Regions from separate parts of the Homo sapiens genome. Here regions 1, 3, 4, 5, 6 and 7 are each linked to region 2. The links are contacts of gene promoters, found by promoter capture Hi-C in blood cells and fetal thymus (Javierre and others, 2016). All regions are on one chromosome and are shown on one strand. The core of a region is centred on a gene start or on the middle of the fragment in contact, and the rest is flanking DNA. Distances in the headings are between cores, read along the strand shown.

Evidence for each region. The method cuts DNA at HindIII sites, captures the fragments that hold promoters and counts their contacts. A CHiCAGO score of 5 or more calls a contact.
Region 1: the fragment with the promoter of LCE1D here is called in contact with the fragment with the promoter of SPRR2G in region 2 in 7 of 17 cell types (endothelial precursors, M2 macrophages, fetal thymus and 4 more); the score reaches 22.3 in endothelial precursors.
Region 3: a contact is called between the fragment with the promoter of KPRP here and the fragment with the promoter of SPRR2G in region 2, in 4 of 17 cell types (M0 macrophages, M2 macrophages, erythroblasts and 1 more). The highest score is 8.0, in M0 macrophages.
Region 4: a contact is called between the fragment with the promoter of KPLCE here and the fragment with the promoter of SPRR2G in region 2, in 6 of 17 cell types (M0 macrophages, M1 macrophages, endothelial precursors and 3 more). The highest score is 12.1, in M0 macrophages.
Region 5: a contact is called between the fragment with the promoter of LCE2A here and the fragment with the promoter of SPRR2G in region 2, in 4 of 17 cell types (M1 macrophages, M2 macrophages, endothelial precursors and 1 more). The highest score is 8.8, in M1 macrophages.
Region 6: a fragment that was not itself captured here is called in contact with the fragment with the promoter of SPRR2G in region 2 in 1 of 17 cell types (M0 macrophages); the score reaches 5.3 in M0 macrophages.
Region 7: the fragment with the promoter of LCE2C here is called in contact with the fragment with the promoter of SPRR2G in region 2 in 16 of 17 cell types (M2 macrophages, M1 macrophages, M0 macrophages and 13 more); the score reaches 24.3 in M2 macrophages.

Annotation. Positions count from the first base shown.
Region 1 is chr1:152,795,101-152,798,016 of GRCh38, forward strand. It overlaps LCE1D (late cornified envelope 1D), which reads left to right and starts at 1,621. Exons shown (of 2, transcript NM_178352.3): 1 at 1,621-1,671; 2 at 2,673-2,916. The coding sequence starts at 2,695. The HindIII fragment of the contact is 8,213 bases long and covers 1-2,916 here.
Region 2 is chr1:153,149,607-153,152,588 of GRCh38, forward strand. It overlaps SPRR2G (small proline rich protein 2G), which reads right to left and starts at 1,284. Exons shown (of 2, transcript NM_001014291.4): 1 at 1,246-1,284; 2 at 1-525. The coding sequence starts at 504. The coding sequence ends at 283. The HindIII fragment of the contact is 711 bases long and covers 1,224-1,934 here.
Region 3 is chr1:152,756,345-152,759,355 of GRCh38, forward strand. It overlaps KPRP (keratinocyte proline rich protein), which reads left to right and starts at 1,681. Exons shown (of 2, transcript NM_001025231.3): 1 at 1,681-1,715. The HindIII fragment of the contact is 4,639 bases long and covers 1-3,011 here.
Region 4 is chr1:152,717,940-152,721,019 of GRCh38, forward strand. It overlaps KPLCE (KPRP N-terminal and LCE C-terminal like protein), which reads left to right and starts at 1,583. Exons shown (of 1, transcript NM_001024679.3): 1 at 1,583-2,531. The coding sequence starts at 1,583. The coding sequence ends at 2,335. The HindIII fragment of the contact is 5,275 bases long and covers 1-3,080 here.
Region 5 is chr1:152,696,979-152,699,973 of GRCh38, forward strand. LCE2A (late cornified envelope 2A) reads left to right here and starts at 1,367. Exons shown (of 2, transcript NM_178428.4): 1 at 1,367-1,416; 2 at 1,904-2,464. The coding sequence starts at 1,924. The coding sequence ends at 2,244. The HindIII fragment of the contact is 4,015 bases long and covers 1-1,696 here.
Region 6 is chr1:152,646,719-152,649,922 of GRCh38, forward strand. No RefSeq gene overlaps it. Among named protein-coding and RNA genes, the nearest start is that of LINC00302, 7.2 kb to the right of the region's middle. The HindIII fragment of the contact is 789 bases long and covers 1,085-1,873 here.
Region 7 is chr1:152,674,025-152,677,056 of GRCh38, forward strand. It overlaps LCE2C (late cornified envelope 2C), which reads left to right and starts at 1,255. Exons shown (of 2, transcript NM_178429.5): 1 at 1,255-1,304; 2 at 1,971-2,545. The coding sequence starts at 1,992. The coding sequence ends at 2,324. The HindIII fragment of the contact is 8,836 bases long and covers 1-3,032 here.

The sequences.
Region 1 (2,916 bases), core at 371-2,870, 350 kb before region 2:
ATGTCATAAAAGAACAGAATCAAAGACACACTACAGTGTTTGGAGATACTACGTTATCACAGGAGTCTGGGCAGCTGTAATAATTGATGCTCTGAGACAGGTGGTACACACACATATACATCTCTCTCAATATGTATGCTCTGTATATGTGTTTATAAATATACATGTATCTCCACCACGTTTTGGTTAGGGTCACCATGTCCATTTTGACCTAGATATCATTCCCAAGTTCTGGGCATATCCAGAGTCTGTCAGGGGCTGGGAAGAAGAGGACTTGTCCCTCATATGGTTTAATCTGGCTTTTCTTGGTCTTCCTCTGAAGAAATAGTTTAATTTGTGGATAACCTTGCAGTCATGGCTGTCTTAGTGACTAGTGTGTCCTAGAATGAACAGCAGCCCATTTCATTAATATCCTAAAAATGTATAAATTCAGAACACTCCATTCATATAAATCCTGTGGACATGTAGAAAGCTAGTGATTCTAGTGGAGAGAGAGGAGAGGGGCTTCCAAAGTAGCAGCATAAACACATTCACATTAAATATTAAGGACTCTTGTTCTTAAAAGGCACCCGTCCCCTTATGGTCCAGGACGGGGTTCTGCCAGCCATTTGACCCCACATGGAAGCGTAGACTTATAATGTCTCACAACCATGTCTCTTTTCTTCCTGTTTCTCATCTGTGACCATCATCCGGTGCTCCCAGTGTGAACCCAGAAAAGTCCAAATTCTCACACCAATACAAAGAGCAGAGCTGCTGCTTCTTGTTTCTCTAATGAGCTGCTTCCTTGTTCACATCTCAGTGCTGACACATCAAGGACCCCACCAGAAGAAAAGGGCTATTTAAAAGCAAACAGATCACCAAACAGCCAGACTCACTCTCATTAGAAAAAAGCTGTGCTTCGTTTGTTAAACAAAGATCAGTATCTTCATTCTGTATTCAGCAAGTTATGAATGTTTCACTTATTCAGAGCCTACAATGTTTCAGTCTCTCTGTCAGGCACATTTTCTCTTTTTTGTGTTACTTTATTGACTTTCACAACCAACTAATTCTTCTGTAACTAATTCTTTTTCATCTTCCAGCTTTATGGTTTAAAAAATGGTACAGGCTAAATAGTTTCAACAGTCCCATCTCGCAGGGCCTGGTCCTGGGCCGGGTTATACTTCCAGGGTTTTACTTGTGTAGATGTCTACACTGCACCCACAGCCACACAGTTTGGTGGTGCACAGGGACAGAAATAAACATGCATGGAAACCTCAGGGATTAGTACTTCAACTTCAACCCAGGCTGCACGGAGCATCAGGTACTTCGGAAGAGACAGAAATGAGATAGGTCCTAAGTTCTAAGACTGAGAACTGAGAGGCTCTCAGGGCAAGCAGCCTTCAAGTGAATGAGGTAGGTGATGGTAGGAGTCATCCTGGAACCCCGTTTCAAGTAGGCACTTTCCTACCTGGGAGTGGCTGCCTTGAGCCTGGGGAGAGAGGCAGGTGAGGAGCTGTCAGTCACCAACCATCACAAGACCCACGTGGGTGTCAGAAGGAAGGTCCTCTCATGCCCAGGCCCTGTCTCACAGCTGGGGCAGAGCCCAGGCCAGGATAAAAGGGCTCAGGGCCAGACCACCCCATCCACTCACCTCCTGAGGTGCTAAAGAACCCTGTGCTGCCTGTGACTCCGGTAAGAACAGAGCAGGGATGCTCAGAACAGAGCAGGAGGGAAGGAGGGGCAGGGCCTCCGGGGCTAGGGCCATGTTGTCAGAGGTGGAGAGTTTAGAAAAGACTGAAGGGGCGGGGGCCAAAAGGGGTCTGGCACTAACTGGGAGCAGGAAGGAAAAGAGGAAAAGAGCTGGCGGGCTGTGCCATGTGCCTTTGAACTCTAGAGGAAACAAACTGCTCTGGGATGAGGTGGGTGTTCCAGAGTGGGAACTTTGAAGCACAGAGACCTGCTCCACTCTGGCAGCCCACAGGAGGGAAGCCCACCTCTGAAGATACAACCCTGTCTCTGCCTGCAAGGGAAGAACTGGAGCTGTGGACATGGGACTAAAGACTCTTTGGGGTTTATGAACCCCACATTTTCATGGGTCTGAGATTTGTTCACAAACTTCCCAGCTTGGTTAGGACACACCAAGCCTGAGACCCACCGTGTCATCCCATCAGCCTGAGCAGGTGGTGAGTGAGGAAGTCTGAGCTCCAACCTGAGATCAGGGGGTCAGGGTTCAAGTACTAGTCTGCAGAAACTGCTAAGTTTATCTGTCTCTATTGAAGTGAGTTTACTGACCTAGTAGTCTCCAAGATCCTGCACAATGCTGACCTTCCAAAGTAAAATCGTCTTGCAAATTATGACCAGAGAGAATGACTGCTTCTTCTCCTTTAAAAATAATTTTCTCTTAAATGACTCATAAATTAGACAATTTCAGTCTTAAGATATATTTGTAATAATTTCTTCCTCCACTGACAACACATCAGAATCTTAGATGCATTTTGCAATATTGTTTAGTCTTAGTTTACAGTTGTCTGACATCCAAAGATATCTTGAAAAAGATGATGTGAGATTTTGAGGAAATTATTGGAAATAAAACTACTGAAGATGATGCTTTTAAACTTGAGAGGTGCTAAGAGTGTCACAGGGGCAGAGGTGGCCTCTGCCTGGGTCTGACTTGTTATTTGACTCTCCCTCAGCTCCTGAACACCCACCACCGAGATGTCCTGCCAGCAGAGCCAGCAGCAGTGCCAGCCCCCTCCCAAGTGCACTCCCAAGTGCACTCCCAAGTGCCCCGCCCCTAAATGTCCCCCTAAGTGCCCTCCAGTCTCTTCCTGCTGCAGTGTCAGCTCCGGAGGCTGCTGTGGCTCCAGCTCTGGGGGCGGCTGTGGCTCCAACTCTGGGGGCTGCTGCAGCTCTGGGGGTGGTGGCTGCTGCCTGAGC
Region 2 (2,982 bases), core at 34-2,533:
TTATTGGGGAGAAGCAAAAGAATAAACACACTTGCTCTCAGGATAGGAACCACCATCTACATCACAGACAGCAAAGCGAGATTAGGCAGTGATCTGGCTGCTCATCTTCCAACAACATATCGGTTTTCAGAACTAAGCCTTTTCTCTGTCAACGCTCAAGCCAGACAGAGGTTAGGGAAGATGCAGCCTCCCACTACAGCTGAAGGGAAGATGATGGAGTCCTGGGAGTAAGAAGAGCCACTGGATCTTGTTGTTTCATGGTCCTGATGAATTCTAGTGATGTTACTTGCTCTTGGGTGGATACTTCTGCTGGCAGGGTGGGTATGGTTGCACAGGAGGGCATTTATCCTGGCATGGTGGAGGTGGGCAATGCTCAGGTGGACAAGGAGGAGGCAGGTAAGGCTCAGGGCACTTCGGGGGTGGACATGGCTCTGGGCACTTTGGCGTGGGGCACACAGGAGGTGGCTGGCAGGGCTGCTTGCACTGCTGCTGCTGGTAAGACATCTCTCCTCAGTCTCAGAGAATCTGAAAGATACATACGAAACAGTGCTCATAAGAGAGACAGTCCTGTTGGTGGAGCAATTAGCTAGGACATCAAATCTCCAGTATCTAGGGACCAACTTTGATCCCTAATACAGTCTTTATGACTTTGTGAACCTTCTTCACACTTCACTTTTAGGACCTCTTACCCTCAGTTCTTCCGTCTTTCTGGCTGTTCTCTCATTCTACCATTTTCTGAAAATAAAATTGCCTATGAGACAGCAACAAATGTTGTCTGAATACAAACACTATCTGAAGAAGAAAAACTCAGATATTAAAAGTCTAGCCAATACCAAACAAATCTGTGCTCTTATCTTCCATGAGGCCCTAGTTACCAGTTTTAATGAGCTGGCTGTGGTGCTGAGCCATGAGTTTTTTAAGAGAATTGCAAAAACTTGCACCCATCACCCAAGGAGATTGCACTCCAAGAGAGATGTATTTGGAACAGATGTGAAGCAGGAGACAGAACAGCATCTTGTGTCTCTCACTCTCCTTCAGTTTAAGATTTTATATATTTGACTCCAGGTTCCTCATCACCTTCATGTTTATCTACCAAATACCAGCTAAAATTTACCTTCAAGACCTCATTATCTTCTTTTTCCTATCCATGAGGATAAATTGGTTAAAATAAACAGGCATTTCTGTACCCAGGTTAGACCCTAACACCATCCAAGTGCAAGAAAAGCTTCTAATATTTGTACTCACCAGAGTCTTCAAAGATCTACAACTGAATGGCAAGAAGATAGCATCAGTGTGGTGGAGAGTCCTTTTATAAGGGGCAGGCAGCCCTACACAGGGAACAGCCCAGGACTAGCATGATGTGCTTATTTCCCAACCAAAATACCACTTGCATGTAATCCATGCTGGTATCACAAAATTCCTAGTCCATGATCCTCCCCAGCAGGATAAGTGCACAGTGATTCACTTGGGACATTATCTCAGGTTCCTCATGCCAGTGGCAATTGTAGAACGTGACAAATTGTCTGACAATTGTGGTGCTTCCCTATAATTAGAGATGGTGCTTCTCCTACTTCCCAGCTTCCAAAGTATCCTGTATGTAAAACTACTCCCATTCAGTTGCACATGCCCAGTATCTAGCTGTGTTCTCTTTAGTAGAGACCAGTATGTGCTGATCCTGCAGCCTGGCTATATCCTAACCCTCAACTGCAGTTTTTCTTTACAACTAACTTCCCCTTTTATCATGGCCTATTGATCCTTAGGCTTTTCTTGACAATTAATTGACTTGAACAGGGTGACAAAATCATATATCAGCTTCCTAGATGCTGACAGCCCCAACCTGGGTGTGTTCTGACATGGTATTAATGGGCTTGAACAAGGCAACATCATCTCTCAGTTTTCTAGGCCATTAGAGTCATGTTGGGGCCCCTTCTTAAAGCTTCACATTTGCAGATTTACACACTAACCTCATCTCTGTGGCCCTTGTAACTATGAGTGACTTGTGGTCTACTAGAAATCCAAACTCATCTTCTCCCATTTTCTTCCAAACTGCCTTAATGTATGTGCTGCATCCATTTTGAAGCTTTTCTCCTACATGCTAATTCAATTTACTCCTTCACAATTTCTCTCTTTTGAAATGACATTTAGTAGGATTTCAGGCTTTCTTTGCACATTCGAGGAGTGAAGTTCTGTAAAGCTATTTATCCTGCTGTTTACTTCATGGATGTTTTTACCTAAATAAGTAAAGTATAGCTGGCACAGATCCCACGGATAATTTCTTAGTATAGCTTATTTAACCATATTAACACTTCAGCTAGTATTACTCACTGTCCCAACTTGGAAAAAACTTGAGTACCTTGGTTATGCATACATCTACAGCCACCACTACTGTGTGGAACTAAATATTTCCTAACCTCCTTGAAACACAGTTTACACAGCTGTAAAACAGAAATAAAAAATACACCTACCACAAAAGTCTCCTACAAAAACTCAAAGAGTGGCCTAAAATTATGCACATTACATAGTGGGTCTTCTAAGAAATATAAACTCTAAAATGTAGAAGAAATAAGAATAATAACTAATCATAACTAACCAATAATTTCAAACATGTCAAAAACAGATAATAAAGAATGGCATTGTTTAGAGTGAGGCCTATCTAGTGAAGATCCTTTCCCTGCATCCCCCATTCTTCTAGCTGTAGTCACTACTAATTAGACGGCATGGGTACCATAGCACCTACAGGGTCGGCACCTTGTTTTCCTGAGAAAGCCCCTCTCAGGGAAGATTTTTGCCTTGTGCTCTTTACCCAGAAGAATGCTGTGTTGTATCTGCAATGTTTCAAACTTGATTGGGTTGGTACAGTAGAGAAACAAAAAAAACTGAGGACCTAACATGGGAATTTGAAGAGGTAGGAACGTCTTTGAGTTGAGCCCTACTATTAAATTCTTTCTCAGCATCTCAGAGGAACAACATGAGGCTAGTTAT
Region 3 (3,011 bases), core at 431-2,930, 390 kb before region 2:
GATAATTTAGAAAAGAAAAAAAAAAGAGGCTTATTGGGCTCACATTTCTGTAGGCTGAACAAGAAGCATGGCATCAGCATCGGCTTCTAGTGAGGGACTCAGGCCACCTCCACTCATGGTAGAAAGTGAAGGGGAGCAGGCTGTGCAGACATCACATGAAGAGAGAAGAAGCACGAGAGGGGTGAGGGAGGTGCCAGGCTCTTTTTAACAACCAGCTCTTGCAGGAACAAATAGAGAGAGACCTTAACCTCCACCCCTACCAGAGAGGGCATTAATCTATTCATGAGGTATCCTCCCCCATAACCCAAACTTCTGCTATTAGGCTCCATCTCCAACACTGGGGGTCAAATTTCAGCATGAGGTTTGGAAGGGATAAACACGCAAACTATAGCAATGCCCTATCTAAGGTGGGCAGCTGCTAATCAGGATAATGGAAGGTATGTTCAACTATGCTAGATCTTTTTATTTCAGAAGAAAATCTGAATTTCTGGAATCTTTAATAAAATCTGCCTATTTTTAAATACTAACAATTAATGACAGTATTATGAGGGAAAACATAAAGAGCTGTCCATTTTGACTCTATGTGGCTCACAGAGTACCAGATTATTATTTCTGCCCTGCACTGTGCTGCCTTTAAGGGCTACTCCACAGCACTACCTGCCTGGTGCTGCCTTCAAATACTGCTCTGCAGCATTGACTGAGCACCTGTTGTGCAGGCATCCACTTGCTCAGCTCAGGATGGGGAGGCAGCAGGCACCCATGACTCAGCAGTGCCTGTGGCTTATGGCCAGCATTTACCCTGAGTGGATTTGGGATAGTTTAAACATCATTCTTGGATGAATTTTTTTTTATTATACTTTAAGTTTTAGGGTACATATGCACAACGTGCAGGTTTGTTACATATGTATACACGTGCCATGTTGGTGTGCTGCACCCATTAACTCGTCATTTAGCATTAAGTATATCTCCTAATGCTATCCCTCCCCCCTCCCCCCACCCCACAACCGTCCCCAGTGTGTGATGTTCCCCTTCCTGTGTCCGTGTGTTCTCATTGTTCAATTCCCACCTATGAGTGAGAACACGCGGTGTTTGGTTTTTTGCCTTAATCCTCACAACAATCAGGAAGGAAGATTTAATTATCTCTCTTTTGCAGAAGAGTAATTTGATACTCAGATTGTTTATAAAGGTTGCATAGCTATAAGTACACGGCCTGGGATGTTAGACTCACCTTTGGCCCCATGGGCTCATCCTTCTATAGAGTTGCCTCTATCTTTGAAGTAACTTAAATTACTTCAGGTTAGAAAACACTTCCTCTTTTATGTCACTCTGGTAAGAATCTGAAGCAAAGTGGAAGTTGGCAGATACAATCATCTTTTAGGAGAGAAGATACCTTTGTCACTCCTCATCTCCCGACCATCAGGTCTTCTAGGGATGGAGGAGAAACTGTTAGGGCAATGAAGGAGGAAGAAAATAAGAATCTGCTATTCATAGTCCTGAGGCTTCAACACTAAGACAAGCCACTCCCACACTCTGTAGGTGACGGCAAGGGCAGGCACACAGGGAGGGAACCAGCTGCTGGAATGCCAGCCCGGTTGATGCACCAGGCGGATGCCAACCAGCTGTCTCATGGCCCAAGCCAGACCCAGAACCCTTTATATAAAGACAGCCCTCTTCCCAGATGCCTCAGCCTGAAGGACTGCTTGCCTGTGAGGAGGGTGAGTCTAGGAACTGGATCCTGGGATCGGGGTGGATGTGATGTTCAGGGGAGAGCCCAGGTTCACAGTCGTGAGGCACAAAGAAGGGAGAAGCTAGGCACCAGGGAGGGCGAGGGGTGCATTAACCTGAGGAGAAAAGTCTGGTGAGCTTTTAGGAGACAGAAGCATAGCTACAGAGTTTACGAGATGAGCTAGGGCTGTGAAGCTAGTGTATTTGCCTTTGATAACCCTGACCTTATCCTCAGGTACTATTTTCCCTCATGATCTTTCTGGAAAAGCCACATTAGCAATTTACACCTTATGAGCAAAGTTGTGTGTGGAAGGGTTACCTTCCCCAGGGAAATAGATATGTAGGTATTCTCTACAAATTGAAAATAGAAGGTTTGAACCCTCATCAGGAGCATTTGGGGAGCTTATTGAAAGACGGTTTGTTGGATGAGCCTGTTGTCAAATGATCTTGTTTTGCTGGTCAGTGGGCTGCCTGCACATAAACACGTGCATCTGACACAAGCAGACGAGTGAGGCTGCCCTGTGCTCTCCCCAGCTAAGCATGGTGTCAGGGTGTATGCCTGCAGCCCTCACGTTATGTTTGCAATGCCCCAGCTGCGTAGATCTTTAAGTATGGCAGAATGTCCGTCTTCTGATTAAGAACCTTGGACTTTCTGGCTTACTCCATCTTAGGTAACTCCACCTTGCCTCTAAGAAGAGCTGGGGAAAAACATTTCTGAGGCCTGCAGACTGTCACACTTCAGGTGATTAGCAACAGCAACCTGACTGGGCAAGTTGCCATGGTGGTCAGAGTCTTTCCAAGGCTGGTGTGTTTTGCATGGGCACACTTTGCACGTGTCATGTTTAAATGAATTTATTTCAAAACATTGTGTCATGTTTAAATGAATTTATTTCAAAACATTGTATCATGTTTAAATGAATTTATCTAAAAACATTGAATATAGAGAAACAAACATTTAATGTTGGGTTTGAGCTGCCCGCTTTCCAGTGAATGCTTTGACATTTTGTGAATGCAGATGGTGCTGAGTGCTTATTCTCATATGTACGTTCTTACATGTTTGCACATTTATGTGTACTGCCAGTGCACATGTGTGAGTAAATCCAAGCTCCTGTGGGAATGGAGTTTCCACTTTGGGCTATAGCCTTAGGAGCAAGTTGTTATCTCTACTTCCTGTAGGGCTGCTCAGACCACATTGGATGTGAGAAAGTGTGGAGACGAAAGGAGAATCCTTTTGTCATCAGTGCCCTCTTTTCTGGGCATTGGTAGGTCCACCCCCAGGGAGATCC
Region 4 (3,080 bases), core at 333-2,832, 430 kb before region 2:
AGCACCCACCCAGTTTCCAAATGAACCTAGAATAACCTGATGTTCCATGAAACAAACCATTTTTTGGAGGTCTTGTGTCATATTGGGCCAGAGACCACTGGGCCAAACTGTGCTCAGCAACCTAGACCAGCAGAAGTTACCTTGGAAGCCCACAGAACACTCATTTAGGCTGAGTGAAGTGAGGTGAATCTATAGTTAAATTCTCAATTTTTCATACACTGTGCCAAAAGCTACACTTAGCTTTAGATTAGATTCTCAATTTTAGTTTGATTCTCTGAGCTACACTTAGCTTTTGGCACAGTGTATGAAAAATTGAGAATCTAACTATAACTTGGATAAGTCCTGAAGACTCAAGTGACCTGGAAACAGCTTCATTAGAGACAGATCACATAGGCATCACTCATAACTTATAGGAAAAGGAGACTGACTTGTTTCCTGAGGAAGGGAACAGGAATCATTTATCTAGTGTTTGGGAAAACCCAATGTCAAGCACAGACATGCCCTGCCTCTGACTGAGGAGCCAGGCATACTGGGGAGGAATCTTGCCAATGCAACACCATCCCTTCTCCTTGTGATCTCTGGTGCTTCATTTAGATGCCATTAAATTGCCTCATTGCTGCCCTATAAAAGGTCTCCCCACCTGCTAGTTTTTCAGATCACTGACTTCTTCCAGTCTTGCTCCTATCAGCAAAGAGGGTAAGTCTCTATACGGGATAAGGACATGGTGAGAAACAGAGCTTTGGGGAAGCTGGGGTGGGATGAGAGCTGTGGGATGAAGGGTGAGCGAGGACTAGATGCTTAGGAAATCTGCTGAAGGAGGCTGAAAGCAATGCTGGTGGGAAACTTGGAGCCTGGGGCATGAGAGGAGAGGGAGGGGGACACGATGAGCTGGCATTCCTGTTTAAGAAGGGACTTTAGAGAACTGGCTCCCCATCCCCTTATCTGAATGCAATTGTGCAGTCCTCTCTTGGGTCTATGTGCTAATGAGGCCAACTGATTAGTCCAGCTGGTTCAAGGAGCACCTGGTAGAAACCTGCTCAAATTTAGCCTTGTTCTTTGCTCAGTACCGGGCACAGCTTGAGGCTCATGTTGGCTCAGGGTCCATGGACATAAATTTGTCTTTGCTGGGTATTCCTTGTCTGGGCAGAAGGAAGAAGGGAAGTCACCCTGGAGAGAACTGGTGGCAGGGGTCAATCATCTGGGAGCAGCAATTTCCAAAGGGTAATTCACAATGCAGACACTGAAGAAAGAGGAGAGGAGGCTTGGAGAGTTGGGTAGAAACACAGGCAGCACCATTTCAAGCCTCCATTTCCCAATATAGAGACTGAGGCCCAGAGGTAAGCGATGACTTGTACCAAGCCACATAGCCAGGTACAGGCACAGAAGCTGAGCTGAGAGTCCCTGGCTCTGAATCCACCTCCTGCCAAGTATACAGCCTCTGGATGTCTGCAACCTTCTCAAGAAAGCCTTGCTTGCAAATCACTGTATTCAAAGGGGATGTTGAAGGTTTCCCCTAGAAACCTTCCTGGTTTTACAGTTCTAATGAAACCTTTCTTTTCAGATTTTGCAAAGCCACAGAACAATGTGTGACCAGCAGAAGCAGCCACAGTTCCCTCCATCTTGTGTGAAAGGTTCGGGACTAGGGGCTGGGCAGGGTAGCAATGGTGCCTCTGTGAAATGCCCAGTTCCATGCCAGACCCAAACTGTCTGTGTGACAGGCCCTGCTCCATGCCCTACTCAAACTTATGTGAAGTACCAAGTTCCATGCCAGACTCAAACCTACGTGAAGTGCCCAGCTCCCTGCCAGAGGACCTATGTGAAATACCCAACACCCTGCCAAACCTATGTGAAGTGCCCAGCTCCCTGCCAGACAACCTATGTAAAATGCCCAACTCCCTGCCAAACCTACGTGAAGTGCCCAGCTCCCTGCCAGATGACCTACATCAAAAGTCCAGCTCCCTGCCAGACCCAGACGTGCTATGTCCAGGGTGCTTCTCCTTGCCAGAGCTATTATGTTCAAGCTCCTGCAAGTGGCTCAACCTCCCAGTACTGTGTCACTGACCCATGCTCTGCTCCCTGTTCCACCAGCTACTGCTGTCTGGCTCCCCGGACCTTCGGGGTGAGTCCCCTGAGACGCTGGATTCAGCGGCCCCAGAACTGCAACACAGGATCATCTGGCTGCTGTGAGAATTCGGGAAGCTCTGGATGCTGTGGTTCTGGGGGCTGTGGCTGCAGCTGTGGATGTGGCAGCTCTGGGTGCTGCTGTTTGGGAATTATCCCCATGAGGTCCCGAGGTCCTGCATGCTGTGACCATGAGGATGACTGCTGCTGCTAAACATACGACAGCTCAACTCCAGAATGCACTGCCCCGCTACCCCTTCTGGAACATGCACCAGCTTCTGGCCCCCTCTCTGTTAGTGCCAGTGATGTAGAACCTCATCACTTTGCCTCTGTGCTTTGCTTCTCTACCAAGGCAGCCTGCCAGAGTTAGTACAGTCCCCAAACTTTGGCATGAATAAAGCTCTGAATGCATTTCGTGGTAATTTCTGTCTGTTTGTTTGGTCCATATTTATGCTTTTCTATCAGGCACTCTTCTGCATCCCTCTCTTCTTACTCTTGTTTCTCAGCTAGAGGAAAGATCTGCACGAACATGAACAAGCAGACTGAGCTGGTGAAATCCCAGCCTGGGAGCCCCATGCCTTCTAGAATGCTGTGAATAAACTTTCCCACGCAAGTTAGAAGCATCTGAAAATGGAGATTTGAGGGTTGGGGCTGTTTCTGTGCTGCCCTTTGATGAGCCTCAGAGCAGGGTTGACCATGATGAGACCCTCATCTTCCTGGGTGTTGGAGAGATTGTGAAATTGTATCTGCTCATGGACCAGTATCACTGGTCATGGTCAGTATCACTGGACCATGTCTCCACCACTGTGCAGAGGGCTTGAACCCATGCAGGACTTTATGAATTACATTTTCTCATCTGACAGGCTTGCCCTGTTGAAACTATAGGTTGAAGGCCTGAGGGAAAAGGCTAGGAGCCCCCTGAAGTGGGTAGGTATTCACCAGGTCAGTCCTGGTAGTAA
Region 5 (2,995 bases), core at 117-2,616, 450 kb before region 2:
CAAAGCAGTATCTTCTTGATTAACTGCTATGTTTGGATATCAACATTTTTCACTCTTGACCTGAACACTCTCAAGGGTAGGGAACTACATCTGAGACTAGAAAAGAAAACTATTGGAGATGGGGCATCTCTTAGTATGACAGAAATGTAAAGACCATATACTCCTACCTTCTAGACCAAGGGTATATGAAAGAAGGGACTATCTTTTTCAAAAGCTGTATTCTAACTTATGCCATACAGTAGGTTTTCAGTAAATGTTGGATGGATGGATGAAATAAATTGATTAATGGATGAATGTATCTAATCCAAAATTGTATCAGATTCCTTACTCTCCTGTCATTCACTAAGAAGATTAAATAAATCATTTGATTCCCATCACCTTCTTGACAAGAAATAATTAGACTTCTCAAAATCCTGAATGTACACTGTACATTCCTAAGAGAGCCTTCGCTAGCCTACCTATATTTTTAAATAAAATTTTCAAAGACAGGGACTGAATATTGTCCATTTTTCTGTCTCACACACTGCCCTCGTTCTTTTAAAAAATGACATTGTTTAAGTGTCTTCCTTGTGCCTTATCATGTGCAAAAGCCTCACTTGATGGAACCAACAATTCAGAGAGGAAGGTGCTAATAGGCCTGTTTTACAGTTGAGGATTTAGATTGTCTATATATAGTCTTTGAGGTCACTGGGCTCATAAACACAGAGCTCTTCTGATTCCAATTCAAAAAACTATTGGCTTATTTTAAAAACTGCCTTGTTACACAGTAGACATTTTAATTTCTAAGTGAAGAAGTTTAGTCACAATGATCATCACCACCAAATCTGAGGAAACCATCTTGATTCACTTATTAATCCTCCTAGCAGGGTTCTGCAGGCCACACAGCAACATGGGGTCAGGAATGAGGGCTGAGCAGAAGGGGAGGAGTGTATCCTAGGAAGGAAATGGTCTCTGACTCAATGCCACAAAGAAACCTGCCTAGCTGTGGAAGCAGGGCTTGGAAAACTATACTTGGGGATGGGAAGAAGCTGGAATAGCATACTTCCACAGGAAAGCTATGGCAAGGATCTCTGGTGTTCTCAGAAGTCACTCTTTGAGCCTTTGTCCAGGCACAAGCTCCTTAAGAATCCCCTGGCAGCTCCACGGGGACCAGCCTGGGGGGGGCTGTGACTGGTTAAAGCTCCTTTAGACCCCCTTCCCAGAGGGAGGTCTTGGGAGCTCCCAGTGCTTCCTTGGATTGTAGGGACAAGGAGGCAGGGGAATGTGAGGAATGACCCAGCACGTGCCTGGTTGTGCAAGAGCCACTTCCCGCTCTTCCCAGAGCCAAGCCTGAGCCTATAAAAGACATATTCAGCTCCAGCACCTCATCTGCTCTGACTTCCCCAGGACGTGTCTGTGCTCCTGTGTGTGACCAGGGTGAGTGGCAACCTGGGAGCCAGAGGGCACAGGGGAATGGGAAGATTAAGGGAGGCTTCAGAGAGTTATTTCTTTGATTCTGTGCTATTATATGCAGAAAAGAGATACAGTCTGACTTGAGTTTCTGGAAATCTTGCCTTGGGCTGTGAGAAATGTGTATCTGACAGTTTCATCAAGGGCTTATTCTTATATTTCAAAAATGGATACTTTGTTGGGTATGAATACTTTATTCAAGCTCATGAAGATTAGAAAATACTGCCTATCTTCTAAAAGAATAAGAAGCTTCTTATTATATCTGATTTTCAAGTATATATTTTCATTCAGCAGGATTTGTTTTCTTTCACTTGTTGATATATATGTGTGTATGTGTATATATATACACACACTGAGTATTATTCACCATCACCATATGATTTAGTTTTAAAAGAGATAAAATTGCCATCCTTGGTTTTTCACAGCTAAAGGGTTTGACTATTTCGAATTTCAGGTTGAAAAAGTCGCACTGAGATGTCCTGCCAGCAAAACCAGCAGCAGTGCCAGCCCCCTCCCAAGTGCCCCCCAAAATGCCCACCCAAGTGTCCTCCAAAGTGCCGACCTCAGTGCCCAGCCCCATGCCCACCTCCAGTCTCTTCCTGCTGTGGTCCCAGCTCTGGGGGCTGCTGCGGCTCCAGCTCTGGGGGCTGCTGCAGCTCTGGGGGTGGCGGCTGCTGCCTGAGCCACCACAGGCCCCGTCTCTTCCACCGGCACCGGCACCAGAGCCCCGATTGTTGTGAGTGTGAACCTTCTGGGGGCTCTGGCTGCTGCCACAGCTCTGGGGACTGCTGCTGACCAGACCTCGAACATCACAGAGCAACCCTTATGGAGAAACTTGCAACCAGGACCTGTCCCAGAGTGATGCTTCTCCTGCCCCTTTTTCTCCTTTCCTTGGGCTGACACACCTTGTGAGGTGTTTTGTCTGTTGTCATGGCCCAAGAGCCCATCCTGGATCCTGATCTTACCTTCCCACTTTACCTCATACAACAATAAAGCTCTTTTGCCTCTTCGTGAAGTACCCTGGCCATTGTCAATTCTTCTATTCTTTTCAAATCCCTTAAAGTCCAGTGCCCCAGCCGTACACTTTTAAGGATGCTTTGGTAGGAGTGGAGTGTGAGAAAGAGGTATGCTGGAAGCAGTCTCCAGAGGGTCAATCCTGAAAGAGCAGCCTCACAGTAGGGCTTCTCAATGGGACTGCCTGTGTGCACTTGGAGACTGTGAGATGTGGACCCTCTCAGCCCAGGCAGGGGCCTGAAGGGACTGACAGCCCCAGGGCTGAGAACCGCTGGCCATGTGCTGCTTGCTCAGTTTAACTCACCATGCTGAATGTAACTTATTTTCATTTTCTCTTCATACCATGATGACAAAGCTAGAAAAATCTTTGGTACTCCAAGCAAAAAGGTATATTTAACAGAATTCTTTTCATCTGATTTAAAATGCTTGGTATGAGAATCAGAACCCTTAGGGGCAAGTTTAAATGACAACTCATTGCCACTTAACTACTCTCCAGGGAGGAAGAGTCTGTCCAGTTCTTGCTTTCTTTCAT
Region 6 (3,204 bases), core at 229-2,728, 500 kb before region 2:
TGGGATTTGGATGTGAATCAGACACAACCTCTAACCTTGAGAAGCTCACAGTCCACTAGAATCTCTGAAGCACTTCTTTGCATGAGAAAAGCCCATGAGGTCCAAAGCAGGTGGCTCTGAATTTCATCTCCTGAATCACTACTTTGCAATGAGATATGTGAGATACTTTCATTAGTCCAAATTTTTCTTTGGTGTTGTCAGCCTGAGTTTCCTCATTCTCTGTGAAGAGATGTTTGTAGCAACCATGATGGAGTGAGAGGCAGGACTGAAGTGTATGGGCATTTACATGTGGTGTGTGTGTGTGTGCATCCATCATCCATGCATGTACACACACACACACACACACACACACACACTTATATACTTAATTGGCGGTGGGTACAAAAGCACAAAAAAGCCAATTCCCCTGGTTTTTGGTGGCAGGGGATAGAGAAGCACTTCATTACACTCACCGGTGTCCAAGTATTTAGTGTGCCTTCTCACTGTTCCATGTACTGAAATGCATATGAAACAGCATACTATTTCACAAAGTTGTCCCTACTCCATAAGATTTCTTACTAGTATTTTAAAACATTATAAGATATGTGTGTTTATTTCTATAATTCTGATCCTATCAGAATGTGAGAGCTGCTGAGTAAAGAAACCCTGTTTTCATCCTCTTGGGTCCCCGTAAAGTGGTTGTTCAAATAAATAAATAATTATGTTAGATGGATGAGTAAATAATGATGAATGCCAGGGTGATGATTTCAGAAGTTTATCTCCAAGTCCCTTTAGACTGGGAATCAATAACCTCCAAGGTGGTATCTCTAAATGTCTCCAGAACCTCTTCATTCATCAGAAGGTCTTGCTAGGACCTCAAATCTACACCCCTCCCAATATTTGTTCTCTTTCCACCATATGATTATTTCTCTGGTCAAGACATTTGATATCTGGTCAAGACATTTGGTATAATCTTTGATCTATCCCTTTTCCCCATCACATATACACAAAGGGACATCCAGTCTTGTAGATTCTTTTGAAAAAACTCTCTTAAAGTTTTCTATCCTCTCTTTCCTATTTGTCTCATCTAAGCCCCACCTCACAAAGCTTGGCAAGAAAGATGTGACCACCTATTTCATGAGAAGGGACTGGCACGCAGCGACCCAGGCCTTAGAGCCTCAGCCCAGTGACCAGGTTCTTGGGATCTCAGGCTATCTGAGGCTTATATTTGGGAAAGGGTGTGGCTCGTTGAAGGCCCACAGGTCTTGGGCCCCATTGAGAGGCTGGAGTGCTCCTACAGCTCTTTTGGAAGGAGAATGTCAGGAATGGCCCTAAGTGTTCCTTGGTTGTGAGAGATTTTCTCCTGCTCTTTCCAGAGACAAGGCTCATTTCTGAGCCCAGCCTGGGGACTCCTCCTATGAAAGGTGTCCCTGGTTCTTCTTCTTCCTCCTTTTGGACACCTCTGCAGCCTGAGCTAATTCTGAGACTCATCCTGGTAAGTGTGTCTGTGCAAAACCAAAGGACATCTCTGGATTTGGCAGTTTTGTGGTTTTCAGATGTTTACTCTAAGCATTCTTGTACATGTCTTCTAGGAGCAGAATTGCTGAATCTTGGTGTATTTAGTAGCTAAGAATTTAAATTTATAATGGAGAGCTAATCTGTTTTTCAAAATGATTGAATTTTTATGCCCAATATCCTTAAATAAATTTGAAACGATCTACTCCTTTATAGTTTTGTACTGTTCGCCTAGAAAACAATTTTGGCCATTGTTTTCTATGTTTCTTAATAGTACTTTAGTTTCTCAACTAGTTATAAGAGAATTCATACTTTTTGTCTCTTCTTGAGCTTATTTTACTAGATTATACTTTTTAATGTATGTTTTCCATTTTGTCTAAGCTTTCAACGTTGGCAGTGTATAGTTATTGACAGTCTTTCATTTTTATATTTTGTTCTCTGCTTTATTATTGTTATGAAGATACATAACTTTTTAATTTATAATATTTGATGATAACTTCTCTTTTTTTAACCTAGATTAGTCTTGCCAGGGTGGGTTTTCTGGGTATTTGTTGTTGTTGCTGTTTGTTTGTTTGCCTATTCTGGAATTGGGACTCCTCTATTTAAAAATATTTCTCATCCTTAAGGATGAGAGTTCTTGCCAAGTTTTCCTTTCAACTATTTTCAGATCCCAGGGTATGGTGGTCAGGGAGCTACCATGGAGGATTAAGTCCCCTCTTGAGTAAAGCCAGGGAAACATAGAGAAACCCTGCTCCTGTGAAGAACTCAGGAAAATGGTTGGGAATTAAATTAGTTTGAGTTTCACATCCTCATCCTTCTTTCTCCGACCCCCTAGAAGGTGGTAGACTACAATCTAAAAGGTAGGTAATATTTTTTGCCAGGGAGGGGGAAGGAGAAGTATCGAGGTAAAGTCCTCACCTGATGAGCTGGTTTCCTGATGCTTGGACTATAAAGTGGGGCCTTGACCTCACTGGGGGCTTGACAGAGACACTGGAGCCTTTCCCTCGTAATTATTTCCAGTCAGAATCTCTAATACTCCCCAGCAGAATATGAATTCACAGGCCTAAATGATAAAAACATAAAGTCACAAGCATTTAAAAAGATTCCACTAACATCAGAGGTATTAGAAATAATTCACCATTGTTTAAAATGAATACATAAGATTCTTTGATGTTCTATGAAGTAAATTCTTAATTCATCAGCACTTTTTGCCCCTGACCAATACTTTTTTAAAAAAAGTATTATAAATATACTGAATATGAAAAGAAGTTGAATCAAAAGACAAGAAAAAAGAAATTGAATCAAAATACAAAACTCCTTATGAGATATCCAAGGAATAATAAATACAACTAAATGTACAGTAAGGGACACACAAGTTAGAAAATATAAAAGAATAACAACAACAAAAACCCCTAAAGGATAAGACAGAAGGTAATGAATATAGAAGACAGACAATGGAGATCTAACTTACATATAATTTGTATACCTGAAGAAGGAAAGAAAGACAATGAATTAGAATAAATACTTCACATTATAATTCAGAGACTTTTATCTATGTATGGAGTAAAATTCTCTTTCTTCCACTCAATGCAACTATAAAACCTGGGAAGACTGACAGGAACTAGCTAGTTGGGAGCTAGAAATAGCAGCAGACAGATAGGGGAAGGACATGAGAATTAAAAAAGTAGAACTGAAAAGGTGCATAGCTTC
Region 7 (3,032 bases), core at 5-2,504, 480 kb before region 2:
AATATGCAGTCTTTTGTGACTGGCTTCTTTCACGTAGTGTAATGTTTTCAAGGTTCACACTCAATGTATCTGTTTAAACTAAATGAATAAATGACTGGGTAACTCTGTCTAGTGCAACCCTGAATCAGAACTCTGAATAACTAGATTCCTGGCTGACCCTCTACTTCCTGGTAGGAAAGGAGTTCCCTCTGCATAGGAGCCCCAAGAAATGATGTCTACTTCCCAAGACAGGTTTCAAATAATCTAAGTGTCTGGTGGAGTTAAGCTCTCTGAGGGTAAGGGCTCTATATGGGCAATTAATGACACATAAGACCGGGGCAAGTATCCAATACATGGCATTAGTTTTTCTATTAAACATATATTTATTAAGGGTCTATCAGGCACAAAATGTCATACTTAGCTCTTTCTTGCTTCTCACTTTATATTACAAACAGCTCAGTGAGATAGGTATATCTCACTGATAGGTTTATAATGGGCATTATATGTGAGAACTGATACTCACAGTGAGTATCATAGTAATACTCTAGCAATTATTGATAATTGTTACAGCAACTTTCAGAGATTACCCAGTTATCATATGCAAGTTTTCTGATTCCAGTAGCACATTCAATACAAGTCCTCTGACTGAAGGAAATGTTTAGATTTTAGAGGGAATTGTTTATTCTCAATCATTCTCCTTGCTTTAGGTGACAGAATCAACTCAGATTTAATCCACCGAATCTGCTTGCCATGGTGAGTCGGAGGAAAAGCAGAAACACAGAGGCCAGGAGGAAGGGCTGAGAGCCTAGGCAAGGGAGGGATGCCTAGAAAAAGCCAAGGCTGTAGAAGCCCTCTGGGATGGCTGGATCCACAGCAGGACATGGAAGAGAAACTGCTCAGGGTGGAGGGAGTCATAATGGAACATTTCCACAAGGTCAGGGAAAGCTGTGGCTCAGAACTGATGTTTCCTCAGAGGACATGCATTAAAAAAATGCAGGGAACAGAATCTTGTCCAGGTGTGGGTCCCTTGGGTACCCTAAGTTAACTCTTTAGGGTTCCCACCTGGTGGAGGCTCTGACTGGCTACAGCCTCTCTAGACTGCAGCCCCAGAGAGGAGTCCTGGAAGCTCCTGAGGCCTCTTTGGATTGCAGGGACTAAGAGGCAGGAGAATGTCAGGAATGACCCAGCGTGTGCCTGGTTGTGCAAGAGCCACCTCCTGCTCTTTCCAGAGCCAAGCCTGGGCCCTATAAAAGACACATCCAGCTTCAGCATCTCATCTGCTCTGACTCCCCAGGGACGTGTCTGTGCTCCTGCGTGTGACCAGGGTGAGTGGCAACCTGGGATACCAGAGGGGTATGAGCAAGGCAGAGGGATGGGGAGGATGGAGGTAGGCTGGAGAAAGAGTTGTGTGCTTGTGTTCTGCCATACTGAGCAGGAATGGGACTCAGCCTGCCTCGAATCTGTTGAGGCTCTGAGGCCTACCGGAGCTCATATAGGTGGGGAAAGCTAACTGTGCACATCTTTTCCAATTCTGTGTTCAGTGACTTCATGTTGGTAACTTCAAAACTGCTGTGTTGGGCATATTTACACCATGGAAACTGGCAAATACTTCAAGCCAGGCTCTTTTATCTGGAGGTTTCATTGCAAAATATTTTCCAGAGGACCCCTTGGTATGTCCTGCAACACCCAGCTTGTCCTTAGGGCTTGTATTAAAGGAATAGGTACTTCAGGGAGCTGTGAATACTCTATTCGGGCTTGTGAGGATAGAGCAATCGCAGTTTCCCCTGAAAGGAAGAGTAAGAAGCTCATTCTGTTGATTTTTTATCTACGTACTTTTATCTAGAGGAAAGATTCAAGTTGTTTCTTTCAGGTTACTGATGTGATTGTATTATCTAAATATCATTCTTCTTCTACACATGCATTGATTTTAGAAGAGGTATAATATGATCCTTGGTTTGAAATATTTAAAGAGTTTCATTATTATCTTTCAGGTTGACTAAACTCCTGCCAGCATGTCTTGCCAGCAAAACCAGCAGCAGTGCCAGCCCCCTCCCAAGTGTCCTCCCAAGTGTACCCCAAAATGTCCACCTAAGTGTCCCCCCAAATGCCCACCACAGTGCCCAGCTCCATGTTTCCCTGCAGTCTCTTCTTGCTGTGGTCCCAGCTCTGGGAGCTGCTGTGGTCCCAGCTCTGGGGGCTGCTGCAGCTCTGGGGCTGGTGGCTGCTCCCTGAGCCACCACAGGCCCCGTCTCTTCCACCGGCGCCGGCACCAGAGCCCCGACTGCTGTGAGAGTGAACCTTCTGGGGGCTCTGGCTGCTGCCACAGCTCTGGGGGCTGCTGCTGACCTGGGCTACAGAAGAGCTCTTGGGACTGAATGGCCAAGAACCTGCTACGGCCTGATGGATACTCTTTCCACTTCCTCTCATTCCATTCATTGGTTGGCAGAGACCACAAAGACTCATGGGGCTTTCCTGGAAGAACTTCGTGCTTGATGTAACACCCCAATTGCAAGTCTTCTTTTCCTCCTTTACCTCATGTTATAATAAAGCTCTGATCTCTGACTCACTAAATGTCTTGGTCATTCTCTTCTCTTCTGAGATTTCAAATGTCCTCCAAAGGTCAGGGCCTCAGAGTAATTTTCTTCATGAGGCTAGGACAGGACATGAGTAGGTGATACATGAAAAGCTGCTCTGAGGAACTGATTCCCCCAGATGCTGAGTGAATGGAGCTCCAAGAGGGTCACCTCTGGCTATGGTAGCTTTGCCTTTCTCTCCACTAAGCCAGACACATGTTCTAATTTTCTGTGTAATCCAGACGTTGGGAAGGTTGGGAAGCTCTGCAGACTTGTTCTTCTCTAGGGAGAAGAACACATCCCTATGAAGCAAAACTTTCCTGCCCTTAGAATCAATAGTTGGATAAAATGCTTGAAACAGATGTTGAGACCCTTCCTCCTGTAAAGTACAGCCCATGGTCACTCAGCTTCTTTTCATGAGTCTGGTTAAGATCAGCCTTTTGACTTGCTGCCTTGGACACCTGGCTTCAGTTCCTCACA